Linked DNA regions of Homo sapiens: region 2 is linked to region 1. Evidence: promoter capture Hi-C in human tissues and cell types (Jung and others, 2019). All regions are on one chromosome and are shown on one strand. Each heading gives the region's core, a stretch centred on a gene start or on the middle of the fragment in contact. The rest is flanking DNA. Distances are from core to core; before and after follow the strand shown.

Region 1 (4,162 bases), core at 1,292-3,791:
AAAATTTAGCCAGGCGTGGTGGTGGGCGCCTGTAGTCCCAGCTACTCCGGAGGCTGAGGCAGGACAATGGTGTGAACCCGGGAGGCGCAGCATGCAGTGAACCGAGATCAAGCCAGTGCACTCCAGCCTGGGCAACAGAATGAGACTCGGTCTCAATAAAAAAAATAAATAAATAAAAAATAAAAAAGAAAGAAAGAAAAGAAGAAAGAAAGAAAAAAAAGGAGGGATTCCTCAATGGGGCAGAGCAGAGACAAACAGCTAATAGTCACATTTTTTCTAAAGGGCAGACAAAAGATATTTTGCAAATAACTGAATACCACACACACTATCCAGATTATAAGGCCAGTTCTCCACTCAGAAGCCCTCACCTGTGACACCATACCTTCATTAGGGCATGCTGAGCAGCAGCCTTGCAGAGACCATCCTTGGTGGGTCTGAGGTCCCCAAGCTGCTAGGGACTGTCTCTGAGAGAGACATGAGTCCCTAGGTCATATGATGACTAGGAACTCAATGAAGGTGGGGTGGGGAGACCTAGAACTTTCATCCTGACCACTCAGTTCCCTGTCGGGGTCCCATCAGGGAATACCCTGGGTTTAGGTTTCTGTGTGGCTCTGAGCATGTTCCTCTCCTCTCCCTCTCTGTGCCTTGGTTATTCTATCTGATAAGCAAGAAGCTTGGGACAGACAAAATGTCTGTCCTTGGGGCCTTGGGGCTCTGTGCATTTACCCTTCAGCCTGGGATCAGCCCCGCCCTGTCTGAGCCTCAGTTTCCCCATCAGTAATTTGATCGTGATGGCCGAGGTGACCCTGCAAGCTGTCCTCACCCAAACAATGGGGCTCACTAGTAAAAGGTGTGGCCATCAATAATGGATGTCCTGTTACTACACAACTGGGGCCTTGGCCCCGATCACACTGCAGCTGAACCCTGGCCAGCTTGGGTTTCATAGCTCCAAGTTCATGGGTCGGGGCCCCTGGGCAATGGCCCCACAGGCCGAGTGATGATGTGGGATACTCATCTGTGCCCATCGTGCTGGGTCACGCCAGGGACCTGCAGCAGCCTTGGGCCACCTCCTCACACCCTCATCTTAATGCCAAGCCCACAACCCAGACTGGGCTCTGGACTTTGCACCTGGGCTCCCAGCCTCAAGTCCCAGTCTCAGGAGAATCTTTATCTTTCATTTTGTTTTTCTGAGGCAGAGTCTAGCTCTGTCACCCAGGCTGGAGCACAGTGGCGTGATCTCGGCTCACTGCAACCTCCACCTCCCAGGTTCAAGCAATTCTCCTGCCTCAGCCTCTTGAGTAGCTGGGATTACAGGCACCCACCACCTCGCCCAGCTGATTTTTGTATTATTAGCAGAGATGGGGTTTCACCATGTTGGCCAGGCTGATCTTAAACTCCTGACCTCAGGTGATCCACCCACCTTGTCCTCCCAAAGTGCTGGGATTACAGGCATGAGCCACCGCGCCCAGCCTCAGGAGAATCTTTCTAACGTGCTGATGGTCTCTCCCCTGCTCATGCATGCTCCATAGCTCCCTGCCACCCTTGGGAGAAAGCCCAAGCTCATCAGCCTAGAGACTGGGACAGTATGACAAGATGTGACTTGTCAGCTTCTCCATCTCTGCCTCTGTCCACTGACCACACCTGCCCCCCTTCCCCATTTGAGTCCCAACAAATTGGAAATACCAGTTGGGCATGGTGGCTCACACCTGTAATCCCAGCACTTTGGGAGGCTGAGGCAGGGGGATCGCTTGAGCCCAAGGGTTTAAGACCAGCCTGGGCAACATAGTGAGAGCCCCATCTCTATAAAAAAATACAAAAATGAGGTACATGTGGTGGCTCGCACCAGTGGTCCTAGCTACTCGAGAGGCTGAGGTGGGAGGATCACCTGACCTTGGGAGATCGAGCCTGCAATGAGCCATGATTGCACCACTGCACTCCAGCCCAGGCAATAGAGACAGACCCTGTCTCAAAAAAAAAGAAAAGAAGGAAGGAAGGAAGGAAGGGAGGGAGGGAGGGAGAGAGAGAGAGAAAAGAGAAAGAAAGAAAGAAAGACTACTTACACACACACACACACACACACACACACACACACACACACACACCAAATTGCAAATATCCTCCAGCAATGAATAGAAAGTTGTTTTTCCAGATCTTCTCTCCCTTCCTCCCTGGACTGACCTCATGATCTCCTTCCTTGTGAAAAATGTGCAGTCCTGTGGAGAGAGGTGTTGTCTTAACCCGAACCCTGCCTCTGGGGCCTCCTCCCACGGCCTCCTCCCTCCACCCCACACTCACACAGATGGCCTGATGCTGCCACACACAGAGCAGAACCAGGAACCCAGGCGGACGGTACACCCAGATGAAGGCATTCTGTTCCCATTTCCCAGACCACGGAACCAAAGTTGTCAAACCCACTGAGGACCCATCCTGCCCCCCTCTACCTGATACGCTTCCAGCTGCTCGTGTGTGAAGACTGTCTGCTTGTTGCCCATGGTGTGAACCACAGCCCAGACTTGGGGATGCACCCCAAAGGCTCCCAGCTTCCTCGGGGCCACACGGGTTGCCAGGCTGTTGTGTACCAGTGTCTGGGCAAATCTCCCTGCCCTGGCTGTCACCCACCCACCTACGCCATCACCCCCTGCTTGATGAGACTCAAATTACAGCCAGGCTCTCTGGACAACAGCCTGAATGTGTCCATGGGTAAGGATAAGGGCTGTGGGATGTCACAGAGAAGACCTCAGTGGGGAGGCCACATCTGCCACCACAAGGTGAGGCTGGGGTTATGGGGCACACTCAAGAGACAGGCAGGGTATACAGAAGGGCTATGGGCACACTGCAGCTCAAATCCCAGCTCTCTGCCCACTAGCTGTGTGGCCCTGGGCAAGTCACCTGACTTCTCTGAACCTCATTCATGAGATGAAAATTACATTATACCTACCTCATAGGGTCATTCTCAGGATCTGAGATTTAAAAAAAAAAAAAAAAGGTTTTGACTGGGCAAGGTGGCTCACACCTGTAATCCCAGCACTTTGGGAGGGCCAGGCAGGCGGATCACCTGAGGTCAGGAGTTCAAGACCAGCCTGGCCAACACGGCAAAACCCCATCTCTACTAAAAATACAAAAATTAGCTTGGCATTGTGACACATGCCTGTAATCCCAGCTACTCCAGAGACTGAGGCAGGAGAATTGCTTGAACCCAGGAGGTGGAGGTTGCAGTGAGCCGAGATCCCGCCATTGCACTCCAGACTGGGTGACAGAGTAAGACTCCATCTCCAAAAAAAAAAAAAAGGTTTTGGCTGGGCGAGGTGGCTCATACCTGTAATCCCAGCACTTTAGGAGGACAAAGCATGAGATTCACTTGAGGCCAGGAGTTCAAGATCAGCTTGGGCAGCATGGCAAGGCCCTATCTCTACTAAAAATACAAAAATTAGCTGGATGTGGTGGTGCATGCCTGTGGTCCCAGCTACTCAGGAGGCTGAGGTGGGAGGATTGCTTGAGCCCAGGAGTTTGAGGCTGCAGTGAGCCATGATTGCATCACTGCATTGGGAACATAATGGTGAACAAGCTAGATGAAGTTCTGGGGTGTGCATTGACATTATTATTTTATTACATTTTATTTTTTTGAGACAGTCTCACTCTGTTGCCCAGGCTGGAGTGCAGTGGTGTGATCTCGGTTCACTGCAATCTCTGCCTCCCAGGTTCAAGTGATTCTCCTGCCTCAGCATCCCAGGTAGCTGGGACCACAGGTGTCCACCATGCCAAGCTAATTTTTTTTGTATTTTTTTTTTTTGAGACGGAGTCTCGCTCTGTCACCCAGTCTAGGGTGCAGTGGCGTGATCTCGGCTCACTGCAAGCTCCACCTCCCGAGTTCAGGCCATTCTCCTGCCTCAGCCTCCCGAGTAGCTGGGATTATTACAGGCGCCCACCACCACGCCTGGCTAAGTTTTGTATTTTTAGTAGAGACAGAGTTTCACTATGTTGGCCAGGCTGGTCTCGAACTCCTGACCTCAGGTGATCCACCCGCCTCGGCCTCCCAAAGTGCTGGAATTACATGTGTGAGCCACCTCGCCCGGCCCAAAGGGCAGATCTAATGTAGCAGCTACCAACTTTATTAAGGCCCAGAATCCTCTTGGGTGGAGAATCTGAGAGTCTAAATTTCTTA
Region 2 (3,906 bases), core at 253-2,752, 710 kb before region 1:
CTGTGTGACACTTAGCACCATCTGTCATTTTTTTTCTTTCTTTTTTTTTTTTTTCTTCCATTGAGATGGAGTCTCCCTCTGTCGCCCAGGCGGGAGTGCAGTAGTGCAATCTCAGCTCACTGCAACCTCCACCTCCCGGGTTCAAGCGATTATCCTGCCTCAGCCTCCTGAGTAGCTGGGAGTACAGGTATGTGCCACCATGCCTAGATACTTTTTTTTTTTTGTATTTTTAGTAGAAACAGGGTTTTGCCATGTTGGCCAGGCTGGTCTCGAACTCCTGAGCTCAGGTGATCCACCCACCTTGGCCTCCCAAAGTGCTGGGATTACAGGTGTGAGCCATCATGCCTGGCCCATCTGTCATTTTCTTGTTGATGGATTTCCTGTCAATTCCACTACACTGTGAGCTCCATGGGGCAGGGAGGGTCATCTGTCTCTTTCACTAGTGTGTCCTCAGTGCCTAAATCAGGGCCTGGCACATACAATAGAAGCTCAACAAACCTCTGCTTGAATAAATGAATGAATATGAGCAAATAAAATTATATACTCTCCAAAATGGAGATCATTATTCTCACTGAACTGATGGAGAGGCTGAGGCTTAAGGGCTCAGAACAAAGACACGGAAGCTAGAAGGTAGGAGAGTAGGAGGCAGGCTGAAGATGGATATCCAGGTAGGAAAGGATGGGCCTGAGCCATTGAAGGAGAGACCCGTTGGGGCCAAGAGCCGTTTAGCCTCTGGACAATACTATCACGGGTTTACATTCACTGTTCCTTCCTCAGATGGACCCTCTGCCCACAGGACCCCGGCAACTCCTCCTACCCTCTTTAGGGGGAAAGAGGGAACAGGGTAGCTGGGCCCCAGCGGCTTCCTGCTGGGCTTTTGCACTCCCCACAACTTCCTGTGTCTGTATGGTTGATGCTCCGGAGGCAGACAAAACCCAAGCATCCGGCTTCCCAGCCCGGCCCAAGCTCAGGGTGGGGGAACCATGTACCTGGGGCCTCCTGCTCCGGCTCCGGGTCTGGCTCCGGCGGTGGGTTCTTATGCCTCCCCCAGAGGGCCTTGGAGAGTCGAAGGCGACTGGTCCGTGACTCCTTGGGAGGCGCAGATAGGACCCGACGGAATATCGAGCGAGGGGCTGGCTGGGTGCTGACCATGGGCTCCTGGTGGCTCAGGGCCCTGCCCCAGCCAGCAAAGCGGCCCCAGCGGAACCCTCCAGCCGCCTTCTCCCCACCGCCCCCTGTGTGCCAGCGGTAGGAAGTCAGCGGAGAGGTGGCTGTGGGCTGGGTTTGGGAGGTCCGGCTTGGCGACGGTGGGTCCATGGTTGGGGGGGGGGGTCTCCTGGGGGACGAGAGAGTGACAGTAGTGCCCAGTGTCTGTCCACATACTGCCCTCATCTCGGCCCCCTCCCCACCCTCAGCTCTGCCTCCAGGAATCCCCCTGCCCCCACCTCCACTCCCTCCCTTACCTTGGTTTCCTGACCAGCCCCAGAATCAGCAGCCGTCTGCACCCCGCCTGGCTTCCTCCCTCGGAACCCAACTCCACGTGACCCTCTCTGTCCCACCCCACCCCACAGCCAGGCTGGGAGGGCACAGTGCGGGCAGGTTGCTGGAGGTTCGAGGGAGGAGAAGAGAGGAGGTGGGTTACCAGGCTTCTAGCAAGAAGGACCCAGACTGCCTCCCTGACGGGGAGGCAGCACTTGCCCCTCTCTCTGAGCCTCCGTTGCCTTCTCTGCAAAATGAGTACAGGCTGAACAAATGCTGGCGAGAATACAAAGCACCTAGAACTCTAATCCACAGTTGGCCGGAGTGTAGACCCATTCACTCATGTTGGGAAACGGTTTGGCAGGATCTACTAACACTACTAGCTGGATCTTCTCTGACTCAGCAATTCCATTGCTAGGTAGACGTCCAATAGATATGCCCCCCCAGCACAATGCATAATAGCCCCACATTGGAAGCAGCCTAAGTACCCATTAGTGGGAGAAGGAATAAATTGTGATCTCTTCGCACAGCAGAATATCATACAGCAGTGAGAACAAACTAAAGAATGATTTAACTTGGGTGAATCACAAACAATGTTGAGCCAAAACCAAAACCAAAGCCATAAAATGCCAGTAATCTGAGCTATTCAGGAGGCTGAGGGAGGAGGATCGCTTGAGGCCAGGAGTTCGAGGCTGCAGTGAGCTGTGATCATGCCTGTGAATAGGCAGTGCACTCCAGTCTGGGTGACATAGGGAGACCTCATATCTAACTTTTTTTTTTCTTTTTCCCCTCCCTGCCCTCGGGAGACCCCATCTCTAAAAAGCAATAATAAATAAATTTAAAAACCCCAAAACAATGAAGAGTATACACTTTGTGATTCCATTTACATAAAGTCCTAAAGCAGGCAAAACCATGTCTAACAAGCAGGGTATCAGTTTCTTTTGGAGGCACTGGTGGCTGGGAAGAGGGTACAAGGGGGGCTTCTGGAAGATGGCAAGATTTATTATTACTCTTATTATTATTAATTGATTTATTTATCGAGAAGGAGTTTCGCTCTGTCTCCCAGGCTGGTGTGCAGTGGCACGATCTTGGCTCACTGCAATCTCTGCCTCCCGGATTCAAGTGATTCTCCCTACTCAGCCTCCTGAGTAGCTGGGACTACAGGTATTCACCACCATGCCTGCCTAATTTTTTTGTATTTTTAGTAGAGACGGGGTTTCACCATGTTGGTCAGGCTGGTCTTGAACTCCTGACCTGAAATGATCTGCCCGCCTTGGCCTCCCAAAGTGCTGGTATTATAGGCGTAAGCCACCGTGCCCGGCCCTTATTATTATTATTATTTATAAATGAGGTCTATAAAAATAATATAGATCTCATAAAATAAAAATATAATATTTATATTACATAGTAATATAAATAATATTACATTATACATAATATGAATATTATTATTTTTTGTAGATGAGGTCTGTCATCCAGGCTGGAGTGCAGTGGTGCCATCATAGCTCTCTGTAACCTCTAACTCCTGGGCTCAAGAGATCCTCTCGCCTTAGCCTCCTGAGTAGCTGGGACTACAGCTGCATGCCACCACACCTGGCTTATTAAAAACAATTTTTTTGTTGTTGTTGAGATGAGGGTCTTGCTTTGTTGCCCAGGCTGTTCTTGAACTCCTGGCCTCAAGTGATCCTCCCACCTCAGCCCCCTAAGTAGCTGGGATAATAGGCACATGCTACCATGCCTGGCCTATTTTTTTTTTAATTGAGGTAAAATTCATATAACACAAATTTAGCATGTTCTTTTTTTTTTAATAAGATTTTTTTTTGAGACAGGGTCTTGCTCTGTTGGCCAAGCTGGAGTGCAGTGGCACAATCACAGCTCACTGCATTCTCAACCTCCTGGGCTCAAGCGATCCTCCTACCTCAGGCTCTCGAGTAGCTGGGACTACAGGTGCATGCTACCTGACTAATTTTTAACTTTTTGTTTGTTTGTTTTTTGTAGAGATGGGGCCTCACTATGTTGCCCATGCTTGTCTTGAACTCCTGGGCTCAAGCAATCCTCATGCCTCAGCCTCCCAAAGTGCTGGGAATACAGGAATAGCATCAGCCTCTGTGCCCAGAGAGACGAAGCCTTGTTCTGTCACCCAGGCAGGAGTACAGTGGCTATTCCCAGGCATGATTGTGGGTCACTGCAACCTTGAATTCCTGGGCTCAGGCAATCCTCCTGCCTCAGCCTCCTGAGTAGCTGGGACTGCAGGTGCATGCCACCATGCCTGGCTAATTTTAATTTTTTTTTTTTTGTAAAGAGACAGGGTCTCACTATGTTGCCCAGGCTGGTCTCCTACTCCTGGGCTCAGGCAGTCCTCCTGCTTCAGCCTCTGTAGTGGCTGGGACTGCAGATGTGTGCCACCACGCTTGGCTTAACATGTTC

What was found. Contacts are between HindIII fragments. The study calls those that stand out against the background at their distance.
Region 2: the fragment with the promoter of RASAL3 here is called in contact with the fragment with the promoter of CIB3 in region 1 in 3 of the 25 tissues and cell types used here (dorsolateral prefrontal cortex, mesendoderm cells and thymus).

The regions. Positions count from the first base shown.
Region 1 is chr19:16,170,984-16,175,145 of GRCh38, forward strand. It overlaps CIB3 (calcium and integrin binding family member 3), which reads right to left and starts at 2,542. Exons shown (of 6, transcript NM_054113.4): 1 at 2,442-2,542; 2 at 2,179-2,213. The coding sequence starts at 2,492. The HindIII fragment of the contact is 31,728 bases long and covers 1-4,162 here.
Region 2 is chr19:15,463,042-15,466,947 of GRCh38, forward strand. It overlaps RASAL3 (RAS protein activator like 3), which reads right to left and starts at 1,503. Exons shown (of 18, transcript NM_022904.3): 1 at 1,464-1,503; 2 at 990-1,336. The coding sequence starts at 1,317. RefSeq lists enhancers at 727-866, 967-1,096, 1,737-1,846. The HindIII fragment of the contact is 13,394 bases long and covers 1-3,906 here.